Regions from separate parts of the Homo sapiens genome. Here region 1 is linked to region 2. The links are contacts of gene promoters, found by promoter capture Hi-C in human tissues and cell types (Jung and others, 2019). All regions are on one chromosome and are shown on one strand. The core of a region is centred on a gene start or on the middle of the fragment in contact, and the rest is flanking DNA. Distances in the headings are between cores, read along the strand shown.

What was found. The method cuts DNA at HindIII sites, captures the fragments that hold promoters and counts their contacts. A contact is called where the count stands out against the background at its distance.
Region 1: a contact is called between a fragment that was not itself captured here and the fragment with the promoter of COPE in region 2, in 1 of the 25 tissues and cell types used here (lymphoblastoid cells).

Annotation. Positions count from the first base shown.
Region 1 is chr19:18,484,930-18,487,815 of GRCh38, forward strand. The region is part of intron 1 of ELL (elongation factor for RNA polymerase II); the gene reads right to left. Among named protein-coding and RNA genes, the nearest start is that of ELL, 36 kb to the right of the region's middle. RefSeq lists an enhancer at 538-1,123. The HindIII fragment of the contact is 6,018 bases long and covers 1-2,886 here.
Region 2 is chr19:18,917,884-18,920,756 of GRCh38, forward strand. It overlaps COPE (coat protein complex I subunit epsilon), which reads right to left and starts at 1,504. Exons shown (of 10, transcript NM_007263.4): 1 at 1,340-1,504. The coding sequence starts at 1,465. It overlaps DDX49 (DEAD-box helicase 49), which reads left to right and starts at 1,832. Exons shown (of 13, transcript NM_019070.5): 1 at 1,832-1,973; 2 at 2,697-2,820. The coding sequence starts at 1,859. RefSeq lists enhancers at 1-604, 1,507-2,106 and a silencer at 1,237-1,426. The HindIII fragment of the contact is 15,077 bases long and covers 597-2,873 here.

The DNA.
Region 1 (2,886 bases), core at 47-2,546, 430 kb before region 2:
GATCACATCTGACAATGGAAGAAGCTAAGGGACTGACCTAGGTCACTGGGGTCCTCCAGGGCACAGCATGGGCCTCTCCTAGCCCTGGGTTCCTGACGTTTCTGAGGTGAATGAGAACGCTCTAGGGCCTGACATGGGCCATCCCCTCATCAGAGCCCAGGCCAGGCCTCTGTGGGGGTTGGGTCCCTGAGAATGCAGCTCTGCCTTGCCACTGTGCTTCCTGCTCAGGCAGCTAGGAGGTCCCAAACCCCATTCACCTCCATGGGACTATTTGGAGCCCAGCAGAAGCGGCCCATGGGCTCTCCTCTCCCCAGGAGGCCCCTCCAGGCCTCCATCTCAACTCCCCTGCAGACAAGGCCATGTGTGTGCCTTCGACCTGTCAGTCTGTAGGGCCACCTCACTTTTGGGCCTTCCAAGCTCAACTGCTATTAGAGCGCCTCCTCTCTGCCACACTCCCAAGGCCACCCGTCCTCAGCCTCACCACAGAGCAGACTGGCCCCTTCTGCCGAGCCCCAGTGCACCCAAGCTTTCCAGCTGCCTCCACCTCTCCCCTGAAAACAGCTAACACTCCACTATGGGAGCCCATCTCCTCCCAGGGCCAGGGAGACCAGGGAGACCAGGGAGACCAGGTCTGGCCCCCAACTCTAAGGCTCATCTTAGAGGCGAGATTCAGGCCCAGCCCAGGGTGCCCCATGAGGCCTGGTGGTTGGAGGCAGAGGGTATCCCTTGCCCAAATTCGTGCCACATTCACAGTCACTGGGAAAGCTACGGGGATGGGCCGGGCGCGGTGGCTCACACCTGTAATCCCAGCACTTTGAGAGCCAAGACGAGCGGATCACGAGGTCAGGAGATTGAGACCATCCTGGTTAACACGGTGAAACCCCATCTCTACTAAAAATACAAAAAATTAGCCGGGCGTGGTAGCACACGCCTATAGTCCCAGCTATTTGGGAGGCTGAGGCAGGAGAATTGCTTGAACCCAGGAGGCAGAGGTGGCAGTGAGCCAAGATCACACCACTGCACTCCAGCCTGGGCGACAGAGCGAGACTCTGTCTCAAAAAAAAAAAAAAGAAAGCAAGCTACGGGGATGAAAACAGTTAAGGCACTCTCCTGGATGCATCACGAAGCCCCTCAGCCACTGTTTCTCCCTGAGAGCACAGCCACCCCCTGCTGACCTTGGCAGGAAGCAACAAGCCCCACAGCACAAACACCCCCAGGCTGCCCTGCAGAGGGGGCTCCACCTCGGGTGGGAGCCCTGCAACCTGGGAAGGAATCTGGGGAGGGGCTTCTGTGTGAAGCTTAGCTCAGGGCCCCAAGGGCGGTCAGTGTCAGGCACTGGCTCAACAGGGGCAGGAAGAGAGAGGCTGCTGAGCACCTCGTCCTCAGGCCACTCTGCCCCGTTTCTAACAGTCTATGTACAACAGACCCACCCAAGATGTACTCTGTGACCCAGAGTGGGGGTGCGGTCCTGGGAGTGTCCACTGTGGATGTGACCCAGGTCAGAAGGAGATGGCAGCTTGCCAAGCTACCAAGGCACACACTCAGGACCCAGGAGGACCGTCCTTCCTCCTCCGGTGGTCGGCCACACTCACCAAGGCTGCCCCTGAGGCCCTCAGAGACCCAGGCGGTTCTGAGAAGGGAGCCTGTCTCTGAAGCAGAAACCACGCCCTTTCACGGGGCCCCTGTGTCACGTCAGCCGCCTGGATGATTCACAGCTCCGCACCGGACTCGGCTCTTACCGCCTCATCTCATTGTCTGCTCACTGCAACCTCTGCAAAGCACCCAAACCCCTGTCCCAGAAGATAGGCAAAGATCACAGAAAAATAAGAGGATGCCAAGAGAATCTGGCACCCTTCAAGGCATGACCCGTGGTCCCCAGCCAGTACTCACTGCAAGGGTGCTCTTAGGTCCCCTTCCCAGTTTGAACCTGCAACCTGGGAGCTGCCACATCTGGACCTCAGGGATGTGACCTTGCCAGCCACAAAGGTTGGCATCGGGTCCTGCCTGCCACCTCACCCACATGCGCCTCTGCAGCCAACCAAAGCCTTCCAAGATGCTGGCCTCCACCGTCAGCTACATGCCATGCTGACACCTCCGATGCTTCCACCACCACGCAGTGGGTAAATCCTAATCACTCAGGAACACAAAGAAGGCCCTGTGCGTGTAGACCCTGCTGCTCAGACCCCGCTACCCCCCACCAGGAGACCCCCTGAGAAAGGAGTAACTGCTTCTGAGCCATTGCCCATATGGGCTGGCATTCCCCATAAAAACCCATTGAGGGCTCCAGAGGCTTCTGGGAACATCTGGACAATCCAACCACCCCAGAGAGTAGGGTCACCCCTCAAATGGGCAGGCCCAGTGAGGACAGAGCAAGCGTTACATATGTGTCCTGAGGTGGGCATCAAGGAGGTGCCACGAGAGCCAGGCCCCAGTCTTCCTTCGTGCTTGAGGAGCAGCTGGGTTTGGGGGACAGTTGCCCTCAGCATGGCCATAAACCACCTTGAGTGCTTAGGATGCGCACAGATCCCTGAATGTGCTGTCTCAGGAAAATCCTCCACCTTGCTGGGTCTGACAGAGGCAGCTGCATGAAACCAGCCCACTTTTAACTTTAGAGACAGAACCTGATGTGGCCACGGCCAGGCTGCACTAGCCCCTCAGGGAGGCCCCAGGCCAGATAAGCACTGCCTGCATCTTCCACTGAGGAACATCTCTGGGACGAGGACCCGTGCAGCTGCCTGATGCTCAGGTTCATCACCAACAGCACCAAGTTGTTCCTCTGGAGAGAATGAATCAGTCCCTTCAGATCCTCATCCTCCTGAAAGTTGAGCACATGGCTTCTAACAGGCCCAGGTGCTTACCTTCGGAACAACGGGATCTTCTATTACC
Region 2 (2,873 bases), core at 254-2,753:
TGCAGCTGCAGAAAGATGTATGGGAGGCTGGGCACGGTGGCTCACACCTGTAATCCCAACACTTTGGTAGGCCAAGGCGGGCAGATCACAAGGTCAAGAGATGGAGACCATCCTGGCCAACATGGTGAAACCCCGTCTCTACTAAAAATACAAAAATTAGCCGGGCCATGGTGGCGCGCGCCTGTAATCCCAGCTACTCGAGAGGCTGAGAAAGGAGAATTGCTTGAACCTGGGGGCGGAGGTTGCAGTGAGCCGAGATCACGCCACTGCACTCCAGCCTGGCAACAGCGCGAGTCTCCATCTCAAAAAAAAAAAAAAAAGAAAAGAAAAGAAAAGAAAAAAGAAAGATGTATGGGAACAGACACACAACTCTCCCTCCCAGATAAGCACAACGAAGAGACACAGAAGCAGTTCAAGCCTCTGATAAACTCTCCGACCCTGAATCCTTAAAAACTCTTAGTCTGTAAAAGAGTGTTACTCTGACCCAACTCCGCCAGAAGGCGCCTCTCAGGTTTGTTTTCTCTAAAATAAACCTGTCTTGACTGGCAAGCCACCTTTCGTGTTTCTTTCCTCTTTAATTCTTACAACTTTGTCACCCAGGCTGGAGTGCAGTGGCGCGATCTCGGTTCACTGCAACCTCGGCCTCCGGGTTGAAGCGATTCTCCTGTCTCAGCCTCCCGGTAGCTGAGATTACAAGTGCCCGCCACCACGCCCGGCTAATTTTTGGTAGACTCATGGTTTCTCCACGTTGCCCAAGCTGGTCTCGAACTCCTGGGCGCATGCGATCTGCCCGCCTCGGCCTCCCAAAGCGCCAGAATTACAGGCGTTTGAGCCACTGCGCTGGGAAACTGTGTTTATCATTCTGAGTCCAGCGGAATACAGTGCCCGTCCAAAAAAGTGCTCAATGAAGAATGAATGAATGAATGGGTAAGCTCTGGGAGAAATAACCAGGCTGGTTGGGCAGGGAAACGTCCTTCTCTGAACTTTAGGGTTCTCATCCGTAAAATGAGGATAAGCAACAGTCTCCATCTCACGGGAACTGAAGGTATGGCTGAACAAAATAGGCTTATTGTCACTACAGTGGCATAAACACCTCCCTTACTCAAAACACTTTCAAGGGCGCAGAGAGAACGCTGTACGAGTGAGCAGTACCGTAAACTGTTACTGCTCTGGGTTCTGTCACGGGACAGTGACTACTCCTCACTGAACTGTGGAAGAGGTGGCCCAAAAAACGCGAGAAGAAAAGAGAAAGTTTTTAGACGCAGAACGCGGCTCGCGGCCACCAGAAAGCGTCCTCCGCCTCCGCCCCCAGCGTCCCCGCGCCCCTGCGCGGCCGCACCTTCACCCGCTGCGCCTCGTTTATGCACTGCTGGTAGCTGCCGATGTAGAAGGCGTTCTTTACGTCGAACAGCTCGTCTACCTCCCCGGAGCCGCCGGAGGCCGGGCCGGGGGCCGGAGGCGCCATTTCGCTGTCTTCTCACCAGCTCCTCTTCCTGAAAGACACGTCAGCCGGAAGCAAGACACGGGCACGCTAGGAAATGTAGTTTACTTTTTCCGAGCGGCGGCGAAGTAAGCCAATGGGAAGCTCCACAATAATATGCAAGGGGGCGGAAGGCGTAAGTGCGTCACGGAGAGCATCTCGGGAATTGTAGTGTGTTTCTGCAAGCCAATGGGATCCGGGGAAACATGATAAGGATGCGGTCGAGGCTGGGAATAGGCTGAGGGAGCTGGAGAGGGTGGGACCACGCAGGAGGCAGATCCAATAAACAGGAAGATTTTTCTCGTGACGTCGTCGGCGCGCGCCGGAAGCGCGGATCACACGGGCCCCTACAAGGGGCCCCTACAAGCGGCCACAAGGATGGCAGGCTTCGCGGAGCTCGGGCTGTCATCGTGGCTCGTGGAACAATGTCGGCAGCTGGGTTTGAAGCAGCCCACGCCCGTGCAGCTCGGCTGCATCCCCGCCATCCTGGAGGGTGAGTATGGCCCAGGGCCTTCCCCAAGAGGCCTCTCCGCTCCTCTCGACTCCTTTCCCTTCTCGCAACCTTTGCTTATTCCGGTCCCACGAGGCGAGGGGCAACCTCGGGCGTTACAGGAGATCCGGGGTTCCGGAGGACGACTGGACAGTGTTGGCATTTAGGTTGCATGACTGACTCGCTTTGTGTTCGTACGCAAGTGATGTAATCTCTGAAATTTTCATAGTCTCAGCACAGGGAGGGTTTGATGGATGACTAGTCCGATAGTATCGCAAAATCCTGCAGACCTGGTACTGCTATCTTTATTTTACAAATAGAAGTTGAGGCTGTCAAAATTGCTGGTAGATCCAGGACTCCTTGGTCCTGTGATTGCTCCTCTAGGAGAAGGTCTTCTCTCTGCTCCTCTAGCCCAACCCAGTTTCGCCATTAAAGAGAGGCCCACAGGAAGCCTAAGATGTGATAAGTCAGGGATTAAATAAACAAATGAAGGGGTCAACAGGGAGCACAAGATGCATATGAGGGAAGGGAATTCTGGATTCCCCAAATTCACGTGCTCCTGGACGGAGTTAGAACGAGGTGGTAGGAAGCTGTGGGCATCTCGGGTCAAATGGATATGGGTTCCAGTCCAGCCTGCCACTCACTGGCAGTGTGTCCTGGGCAAGGTCTCTGAAACCCAGCTGTCCACACATGGAGGGTGTTGATGCTGCTTTGTCCCCAACCCAGGTCGAGACTGCTTGGGCTGTGCTAAGACAGGCAGTGGGAAGACAGCAGCGTTTGTCCTTCCCATCTTGCAGAAGCTGTCTGAGGATCCCTATGGCATCTTCTGCCTCGTCCTGACACCCACCAGGTAAGCCCCCAGCAGGCCTCCTGGGTATGGGTTAACCAGCTGTGCTCTCTTGG